Linked DNA regions of Homo sapiens: region 1 is linked to region 2. The links are contacts of gene promoters, found by promoter capture Hi-C in human tissues and cell types (Jung and others, 2019). All regions are on one chromosome and are shown on one strand. The core of a region is centred on a gene start or on the middle of the fragment in contact, and the rest is flanking DNA. Distances in the headings are between cores, read along the strand shown. Region 1 overlaps MOV10L1 (Mov10 like RNA helicase 1). Region 2 holds the start of IL17REL (interleukin 17 receptor E like).

Region 1 (5,244 bases), core at 2,533-5,032, 86 kb before region 2:
CTCCCACAAGCAAATGAAAAATTTAGCATAATTCTTCCTTTTGCCACCTTTAGGTCAGAAGTTATAAATAAAGTTTTATGAGGACACAGCCGCACCTTTTGCTCATGTACAGCTATGTCTGCTTTCAGCTACGTGGTACGACCATCCTGTGGGGAGGAGCTTTGAAGGAGACGGTGCTTGACCGGTTTGCTGATCTCATTAGATACTCTGTATCAGCCTTTTTGCACATTGTATTTTCTCTTTCAAAAAAGTTCTTTTGCTGTGGTCCTTAGGTTTTGTGATTGTGTTCACAGCAATTCTGACATGTCTGAGTGTGACTCTCTCAGCCTCAAGAGGACCTGACTTTGCCTCACTTGAGGTTTTTTATACTGGGAAATCCCTTGGCCTGGGCTCCGGATCCCTGCCCATCTTTATTACTCAGGGGACACCTTCTCTTCTCTGCCCCATCAACATCTGCAACATCAAACATTTCTGGTTTTCTTCCTCTTGAGCCATTTCCTGGCGACACCCCTGAGAGGGGCTTCCTGTTAGCAGGGTTGAGGGGCCTCCATGATTATAGGCGCCTTTCCCCAGAACTGAGCGTTTCTCTGGCAGCACAGAGATTCTAAAATCCCAATAGACACCTATCAATTTCATCTTGGGGATCCCAGGGTTAACAACCAAGGTCAAGGCTGGGCACAGTGGTTCATGCCTATAATCCCAGCACTTTGGGAGGCCGAGGTGGGTGAATCACCTGAGGTCAAGAGTTCGAGACCAGCCTGACCAACATGGCGAAACCCCGTGTCTACTAAAAATACAAAAATTAGCCAGGTGTGGTGGCACACAGCTGTAGTCCCAGCTACTCAGGAAGCTGAGGCAAGAGAATTGCTTGAATCCAGGAGGTGGAGGTTACAGTGAGCCACCACTGCACTCGAGCCTGGGCAACAAGAGCGAAACTCTGTCTCAAACAAAGAAAAAAAAAACAAAACCCACAAAAGGTCAGGCGCAGTGGCTCATGCCTGTAATCCCAGCACTTTGGCAGGTGGATCACAAGGTCAGGAGATCGAGACCATCCTGGCTAACACATTGAAACCCCGTCTCTACTAAAAATACAAAAAATTAGCCAGGTGTGGTGGCGGGCACCTGTAGTCCCAGCTATTCAGGAGGCTGAGGCAGGAGAATGGCATGAACCTGGAAGGCGGAGCTTGAAGTAAGCCAAGATTGTGCTACTGTACTCCAGCCTGGGAAACAGAGGAAGATTCCGTCTCAAAACAAAAACAAAAACACACATACACATAAAAACCAAGGTGAAAAAGAGTGAGACAGCAGCTTCCTGGTGGGCAGAGCTACCCCCCAGACCTCCCACCCCCCAGCTTAAAGCAGAAAACTTCTATTCATCTTCCAACAGGCAGTGCTGTGGGCTGTGCAAATGGACTTCAGCTCAGAAGCCACTTCCCCAGGCAGCTTTTCCAATTCCTGCCCTACCACAATGTATGCACAGGTCTGTTTCTCCTGGGAAAGAAGAAACAGACCTGAGTATGGAGTCCAGCTCCGTCTTCACCACCATAGGCAGCAGGAGTAGAGTAAACCGCTGCTGAGTTCAGCTCAGTCAATGACATCGACATATTCTTTCTTTAGGTATAAAAACAAATCCTTTGATCAGCCAAAAACAAATGCAATAAAAAATGGATATATAAAGCCGGGAGTGGTGGCTCACGCCTGTAATCCCAGCACTTTGGGAGGCCAAGGCGGGCAGATCACAAGGTCAGGAGTTCAAGACCAGACTGGCCAACATGGTGAAACCCTGTCTCTACTAAAGACACAAAAAGTTAGCCTGCTGTGGTGGTGGGCACCTGTAGTCTCAGGAGGCTGAGGCAGGAGAATCGCCTGAACCCAGGAGGCGGAGGTTGCAGTAAGCTGAGATCGTGCCACTGCACTCCAGCCTGGGCGACAGGGTGAGACTCCATCTCAAAAAAAAGAAAGAAAGAAAGAAAGAAAAAGGATATATACTTTAGGAAACGTACAATGTCATCCCCAAGCCCTATTTTAAAACATCTAAAGTACTTTAAATAGTACCTCAGCATGCCAGTAACACTAACTTAGATCATAACACTATAATTATATGGAAGCAACAACTACCCAGAAATTACTGACTGCATTTAACAAATGAACACAAAACACATAAAAGCACAAGTTTAAACAGTGACCTGGCTGGGTGTGGTGGCTCATGCCTGTAATCCCAGCACTTTAGGAGGCCGAGGCAGGTGGATCACCTAAGGTCAAGAGTTCGAGACCAGCCCGGCCAACCTGATGAAACCCCATCTTTACTAAAAATACAAAAAATTAGCTGGGCATGGTGGTGCACACCTGTAATCCCAGCTACTCAGGAGGCTGAGGCAGGAGAATCAATCAAACCCAGGAAGCAGAGGTTGCAGTGAGCTGAGATCATACCACTGCACTCCAGCCTGGGCAACAGAGTGAGACTCCATCTCGAAAAACAAAAACAAAAACAAAAACAAAAAAAACAAAACAGTGACCTGGTGCCCTCTCCCATAGTCCACTCAATATCCAAGAGCCTCTGTGTGAAGCCAGCACCTGGAGAAGCTACTCTAATCCCGAAACCCTCTCAACAAACAAAGCATGCCCAAAACTGATCCCTTCAATGTTGTGTGTAGCCATCACAAATATAGACACAGGGTTGTGTTCTGTCACCCAGGCTGGAGTGTAGTGGCTGGATCATAGCTCACTGCAGCCTCCAACTCCTGGGCTCAAGCGATCCTCCTGTCTCAGCCTGACAAAGTGCTGGGATTATAGGCATGAGCCACCGTGCCTGGTCCATAACAATTCTTTAAAAGACAAAACCTAATTTTCAATGTGGAACACAGACCCCTGAGCATACCTTCGCACACACTCTCCAGAGAGAAGTAGGTGGTCTGACTGATACAGCCTGCGCCCTCCACCAGGGAAGTCACACAGCCAATCAACACTCGGGGGCCGCAGTCTGAGGGACTCCCATGGTTTCTGCTGTCGTCTTCCCACTTATCAGAGACAGCTTCTACCTGTAAAACAAACACACCGCTCTAAACCATAATACGAGAACTACAAGAAAAGCAAACTACAGGCTGGCATGCCTGTCTGAGACCATTAGGGCTGCAAGTCCAAGATCAAGGCCCTGGCAGATTCCGGGTCTGGTGAGGGCCTTCTTCCTGGTATACCGTCGGTGTCTTCCTGCTGTGTCCTCACATGGCAGAAAGGGCAAAGGGGTTCTCTGGGGTATGTTTCATAAGGGCTCTGCCCTTGTGACCCAGTCACCCACCAAAGCCTCCTAATAAGATTCCACTGGGGTCAGGATTTCAACATACGTATTTTGGGGGACACCAACATTGAGTCTATAGCAATCCCTTATGAACACTGATGCAAAAATCCTCAATGAAATATTATCAAACCAAATGCAGCAGCATATTAAAAGGATTATACCCCATGACTAAGTGGGGTTTATCCCAGAATGCAAAAGTGTTTCAACATATGAAAATCAGTCAACATATTACATTGATAAGATGAGGGAAAAAATCACGATGATCTCAACTGATGCACAAAAAGCATTTGACAAAATCAACACTTTTTATGATGCAAACACTCAATAAACTAGGAATCGCAGGAAATCTCTTCAACACGAGAAAGGCCATAAACAAAAATCTCACAACAAACACCACACTCAATGGTGAAAGGCCGAAAGCTTTCCCCTAAGATCAGGAACCAGGCAAGGATGCCCATGCTTACTTCAAGACTTTCAAATTTCAATTATCTTTATTCACAGATGGTAGGATCTCATCTGTGGAAAACTCTAAAGATTCCACACACGTAAATGAAACAAAAAATGGTTAGAGCTAATAAATGAATCCAGCACAGGACACAAAGTCAACATACAAAAATCAGATTTCCATACATTTGCAATGAAAAATCCAAAAAGGAAATCAAGAAAAATGATCCAAAGAAAGGGAAAACAATTCCATTTATAACAGCACTGTTAGGTTAATAGGTTAATTCCTCAGAACACTTAGTAACCTAACTAAGGAGATGGAAGACACGTAAAATGACACTAATGAATGAATTAAATACCTCAATAAACAGCAAGACAACCGCGTTCATGAATTGGAAAACCTAATATTATTAAAATGACAATCTTAAGACTTAATTATTAAGATGATAATACTACTCAAAGTGATTATGTGATTATTAAGATGTTAATCTTAATAATTATTATTAAGATGTTAATCTTAATACTTAATTATTATTAAGATGACAATCTTAGACTTAATTATTAAGATGACAATACTACCCAAAGTGATCTATTACACAAATTCAGGTTGGGTGTGGTAGCTCATGCCTGTAATTCCAGCACTTTGGGAGGTTGAGGCAGGTGGATCACTTGAGGTCAGGAGTTCAAGACCAGCCTGGTCAACATGGTGAAACCCCATCTCTACTAAAAATACAAAAAAAATTAGCTGGGTGTAGTGGCAAGCACCTGCAGTCCCAGCTACTTGGGAGGCTGAGGCATGAGAATTGCTTGAACCAGGGAGGCGGAGGTTGCAATGAGTCAATATCACATCATTGCACTCCATCCTGGGTGACAGAGCAAGACTCTGTCTCAAACAAACAACAAAAAAACCCAACAAATGCAACGCAATCCCTATCAAAGTCCTATGGGTCTATTTTTATATAAATAGAAAAACTCATCTAAAATTCTAATGGAATCTCAAGGGACCATGAATAGGCAAAATGGTCTTGAAAAGGAGTAACAAAATTGAAGGTTTCATACCTCCTGATTTCAAAACTTCCTACAAAGTTACAGTCATCAAACTAGTGTGGCACCAGTGTAAGGACAGAAATATAAACCAATGGAATAGTAAAGAGACCCAGAAATAAACCCTTGCATGTGCAGTCAATTGATTTTTGACAAGGACCATTCAATAAACTGCAATTGTGCAGTCTCAAAAAAAAATAGTGCTGGGAAAATAACCATGGGCAAAATAATAAAGTTAGACTCTCGTTTTACACCAAACACAAAAATTAACTCAAAATGGATTAAAGAGGCCAGGCGTGGTGGCTTACCCCTATAATCTCAGCATTTGGAAAGGCGTGGGATGGGCGGATCACTTGAGCCCAGGAGTTCGAGACCAGCCTGGGCAACATAGAGAGGCCCCATCTCTACAAAAAATACAAAAATTGGGTGAGGCAGCACACACCTGTAGTCCCAGCTGCTCA
Region 2 (5,097 bases), core at 1,809-4,308:
TTGGTTTTCCGAAAGCTGGGGGAAGCAGGTGGGCTCCATGCAGGAGCGAGTTGGGAGCCACCTGGGGCTGGTCTTGCAGGTGATAAGGGTGACCCTGGGGGGCCTGCCTGGGGGCGTGGCCTTGAGGGGCGCGGGCGTCGCCTGTTGGTGGGTGTGGATTGAGGGACGGGTGGGTGCGGTCCGGGGACCTGGGGTCGAGGTCAAGGGGCGCTAGGCACAGTCAGGGGGCCTGGGGCGCGGTCGGGGGTGGGCTGGGGTAGGAGAGGACAGGGGCGAGGTTTCAGGGATCTGTGGGCTCAGGGTCTGTGGACGCAGTCCAGGGTTCCCGGGGGGTGTGGGAAGGTCAGTGGGCTGGAGGAGCGGTGGCGGGGGGCGGGGTGGGCGGGGCCCGGGGACGCGACTGCAGGTGGAGGAAGGCGCTGTAGGGGGTGGGGAGTCCCGGGGCGCGCCGGGGCGGGCGAGTGCTGTCGGGGTGGAGGGAGGCGCGGCCGGGGAATGTGGGGCCGGCGCACGCGGTCTCAGCGCCCCTCCCTCCCCAGGGCTGCCGAGGGACCCCCGAGCGCCGCCCTGCCTCGTGTGCCGCGGGCTGCTGCCACCCGCCGGGCCCTGCAAGCGCTGCCGCTCGTTCTGCGCCGCGGTCCTGCAGGGCGCGTCCTTCGTGCGGCTCGGCGGGCGGAGCTGCAGCCCGCGGACCCCGTGAGTCGGGACCGGCGCGGGGACCAGGACGACGACCCGGAGCCACGCGCGTCTCCGTGGAAACCTGCGCGGAGCTGAGGCCGAGAACACAGCGCTGTTGTGGTGAACCCGCGTCCTCGCCGTGGTTTTCTTGGGAACCTCGTGCCCAGCACCCCCGCACCCGCTCCGGACCCTCCGAGCCGCTCTGGGGAAGGCTCCAGCCCGGGTCCCGGGCGGACGCTGGTTCGTTCCTTCCCGCGTTCGTCCGACGAGTCTCGGCGCCGCCCAGGGTCTCCGCACCCCGTTTCCTCCCATCTGGTGCCCAGCGCGGGCGCGGAGGGAGCCCCCGGGGTTGGACCCTCAGATCCCTTCACCGTTGGGCTTCTGGGCGACCGATGGTCACTGGGCTGTGTGGCCGTGCTGCCCTGGAGACCCAGACTTGGAAAGACCCCACCCCCACCCCAGGCCTCGCCCAGCTGCGGTGGGTGATCTCGGTGGCCGGGGCCCGCCCAGGAGCCCGTGGCCTGGCTCTTCATGGATACTGAGCAGGGCCAATCCCCCAGCCCTCAGAGACAGGGCTGGAGCCCTCTGACCTCAGGCTGGAGAGGGTGGCCGGGGGCCTGGGGCAGAGGGCAGAGGCCGGCCCCACTGTCCTTCCCTGGGCCTTGGAACCAGCACCAGCCACACCCCGTGGGCCGTCCCTACACGAGATCACCGACTACTGGCCACCTGCAGCCCCTGCCTGCGTCACGGCACGCTGGGATGGCGCCTTCAGGCAACGGGTGTGTCGTGGTGGGGGCCTGTCCCAGAGAGGCCTGGAGAGAGGTTTGGGTGTGAGTGGGCCCATGGGGGAGGGACATTTGTCCTTTCCCAATGATCCTGCTGGCCGTGCCCATGGACATCGTCTGGGACACCCCTGCCACAGTACAGCAGCCCCCATCGTCCCCTGGTATAAGGAGGGCTGGAGGCCAGGCTGAGGGGCGAGGCCCAGCTGGAGTATCTGTCTTACAGCTCAGCCAGCCTGGGATAGGGGATGACAGTGGCCCGTCCTGAGCCACCCCCAAATGTGCCTGCCTGCTGCTGACCATGCCGTGGCATGGAGGCTGGCACTAGCCACTCTCTCCAGGGCATTGTGGCCACAGGCACGCTGCTGCAGGGGGCGGGCTCAGCCCCATCTACTCTGCCCAGCAGTGAGTGCATAAGTTCCAGCCCATGGAGGGCTCTAGGCCAGGCGGGGGCAGGGTCGAGGTGCTGGCCCAGGAGGCAGGGAGGTGGGCAGTGCGGGGTGGTGGGAGGGAGGGAGGACTTCACGGTCACAGCAGCCCCTGCCGCCTTCCCTCCCCTGGGACCGAACCCCAGAGCTTGTTTCTCAAGCTCCCTCCTGACTACCCGAGCCCACAGTGTGAGGCCCACAGCCTCTCCCAGCCTGGGGGTGGTGCCGCCCTCCACACTTGGGGTGTCCTGTGGGTATTCCAGGCAGAACACCCCAGCTAGACACTCCCAGGCTCCCCAGCTATTAACTCCCGCCATCCCCCCCCCACACACACACAGACACACACACACACACACACACACACACACACACACACACACACACACACGTGGGGCAGTGCCCTCCCAGAACCTGAGGCAGGTGCAGAAGCCTCTGTGCCTGTCCAGGAAGGGAGGAGCCAGGAGGACCCAAGAACTGCACCCTGGTTCTCTCCAACCCCCTGCCCTGGCTGGAGGCAAATGGGAAGCAGTAAGCTTCTGCCCAGAAACTTTCCTATGCATTTGATGCTCCAAATAAGAAGATGACACAGAACGGCTCCCTGAGCAGAGGCTGGGCCCCAGAGTTCCCAGCCTCGGGGGGTGCCCTCCGGAGTGGGGGGGGGCTCATAGGGAGGACCACACAGGGGAGGTGGCCTTTTGCATCTTGAGGGGAGGTGGAGGCCAGGGACTTGGGTGGAATCTCAGGTCTTAGGAGAGGGCTCCCCTTAGGGGCTGGGGCTGAAGCCAGGGGCTCTGGGGTATGAGTGCCCAGGACAGATTCCACCCCTCTGCCAGCCCAGCCAGCTTTCCAGGGCCCTTGTCTACCCTCCTGGCCTCATGCATGCCTGAGGGAGGTGCACGCCGGCGGCAGCCTATCCCGCCGGCCTGGAGCCATCTCTGCACCAGTGGCCGCCCTGTGGGGAACCCCATTAGGGTGTCCTCGGACCCCAAAGGCCCCAAGGTTTCTGGATGCTTCCTTTGGAAACCTAGAAACTCCACAAGTGTCTGGCCACAGTCTTCTGGCCCCAGGCGGTGGAAAGTCTCCCGGGCTGCTGTCTGTGAAGCGAGCCCTGTTTTGCCGGGAGGGGGAGTGTCTCGCTCGCTCCAGCTGTGAAGAGCAGCCTCCACCCTCTGTTTGTCTTTGGGGCTGGAGCTGCAGGGTCAGCCTGGAGCCGCTGCCACAGGGCATCCTGCAAACTTGCCCCACTCACATCCACGCTTACCAGTGGGAGCTCTCACTGCACAGCCAGATGCTGGCTGGGCAAGCACTCGCGTTCTTGGGCCTGACCTGGGGCACTTTCCAGAGCCTGGCCATCCCCCGGATTACAGAATGTGGCCTCTCCTGTTCTCAGGTAAGCTCCTGCCTCCTCCTAGGCCCCTACACTGTGGCAGATAAGGCCCTGGTTTCTCCTCAGGTGGGTCTGGCCTGACGCTCTCAGCACATCAGCAGGTGAGGGGTTGCAGGGCCCTGGGGGGTCCGAGGGCAGCGCTGGTGAAAGAAGGATGGGAGACCTGGCCTGACCCTGCCGAGCTGCTCCGGGAAGTGTTTGCTGGAAGCTCAAGGCAGGGTGAGCCCACCTCGGACCCACCTGTGACCTCCAAGGAGGCTGTGTTAGAATCTAGGGCAGCCCGCAAGCCCATCCGGGGCTCCCACCCCACCCCGCTCGGCTGCTCTGAGCCATCGGGAGCCCGCAACACCTGGGCTTGTGTAGACACCTGCCAAGGAAACACTCGGAGAACGTGCTGAGAATGAGATGTTGGCAGTGGAGGTGGCTGGGTTGGGGTGGAGGGCTCTCACTGCACAGCCCACTCACTCAGCCTTACAGGAGAGGGCGCTTCATCAGCACCTGCAGCAGGAAGTGTACCCAGCATCCCAGGAAGGGGCCCCGGTGCCCAAGGCTGGCCGGGCACAGTGGGGACACAGGCATGGAAAGGGCACAGAAGGTGTCCCGGAAAGGGAGGACTCACTGAGGACCTGCTGGGTGCACCGTTCCTGGCATGGGGACAGCAGTTAGCAAGATGTGCCTTTAGGGTGGTGGCCTGGTCACCTCAGGGGACACTTGCGGGGACATCCAGCAGCTCCACAGGGCCTGAGACGGGTCCAGCAGAGGGCTCAGCTCAGGGAGGGGAGCAGCAAGGGCTGGAGTGCTGGGTGCCATGGGCAGGCTCAGATCCACAGGGCATTCGTGGAACAAGGAAGAAAGCAGGCTGGGATGCGTGGGAACCGGTGGCAGCAGGGGAGATGGGCGGGTTCAGGTGGGAGGGGTGTCCACCGGATGCCACCCTGCAGTGGAGATGGAAAACAGGGAGGGGGCAGGCCTGGGGATCCTGGCTAGGAGGGGGAAGGAGAAGCGAGAGATGAGACCTCAGAATCGACTTTTGCCTCTGGGAGGAAATGGTCCCTGAGTTGGGAGACATGGGGGGAGGCGGCCTTGAAGTGCAAGCTGGAAAGCTTTGCTGAGGCGGCTGCGGGGTATGCAGGCAGCCTCCCGGTCCGAGGTGTGACCGCGCTGTCCACGCTAGGACGGCCAGGTGATCCTGGGGAATGGGTGGGGACCAAGATTGAACCCTCAGTACTCCAAGGAAAGGGGCAGGGGCAAGGGCAGGGGCTGAGGCGGGTGGAAGAGGCCAGGAAGGAGGGGAAGTGCTGGAGGGGAGAGGAGAGGAGGGGTTTGGCGGGGCTGAGGGAGGGTCTCATGGAAGATGGGGTGGGGAGGGTTGAGCAGGAGGGGTCAAGGGGTGACAAGAGGAGCGGGAAGCTGGAGGTGGGTGTAGGGGCGCTGCCTGGGCAGCCTTGGACAGGGCGGTGGTTGCGAGGGGGCGCGGGAGCCCCTGCCCGCGGGGGGAAGCCAGGGAGGGGAGGCTGGGGCTACAGCCGCGCCCTGGGGGGGGACCCGCGCGGGTGACGGCGGGAGGCTGGGCCGCATGCAGGGGAGCTTGGGCGGGGTGGGGCCGCGAGCAGCCGCCCTGGGGGTTCCCTGCACACCCCCCGACGCCGGCCGCTGGGAAGCCCCGAGAAGCACGACGGAAAACCCCGTGCGGGGGAGGCGCCCAGCGCCCGGGCTCAGCCCCCCCCCGCCCCCGCTCCCCCCACCTTCCCCCCAGCGCGCCCGGGTCCCGCTCCCCGTGCCGTGGGGCAGGGGCGGGGCAGAACCGCGCGACGTTCCGCGC

Evidence for each region. Contacts are between HindIII fragments. The study calls those that stand out against the background at their distance.
Region 1: a contact is called between a fragment that was not itself captured here and the fragment with the promoter of IL17REL in region 2, in 2 of the 25 tissues and cell types used here (H1 embryonic stem cells and IMR-90 fibroblasts).

Annotation. Positions count from the first base shown.
Region 1 is chr22:50,097,237-50,102,480 of GRCh38, reverse strand. It overlaps MOV10L1 (Mov10 like RNA helicase 1), which reads right to left. Exons shown (of 27, transcript NM_018995.3): 3 at 2,879-3,038. Among named protein-coding and RNA genes, the nearest start is that of MOV10L1, 9.9 kb to the right of the region's middle. The HindIII fragment of the contact is 9,728 bases long and covers 1-5,244 here.
Region 2 is chr22:50,010,726-50,015,822 of GRCh38, reverse strand. IL17REL (interleukin 17 receptor E like) reads left to right here and starts at 3,058. Exons shown (of 15, transcript NM_001371417.1): 1 at 3,058-3,278. The coding sequence starts at 3,177. RefSeq lists an enhancer at 2,573-3,173 and silencers at 4,688-4,737, 4,748-5,067. The HindIII fragment of the contact is 6,785 bases long and covers 1-5,097 here.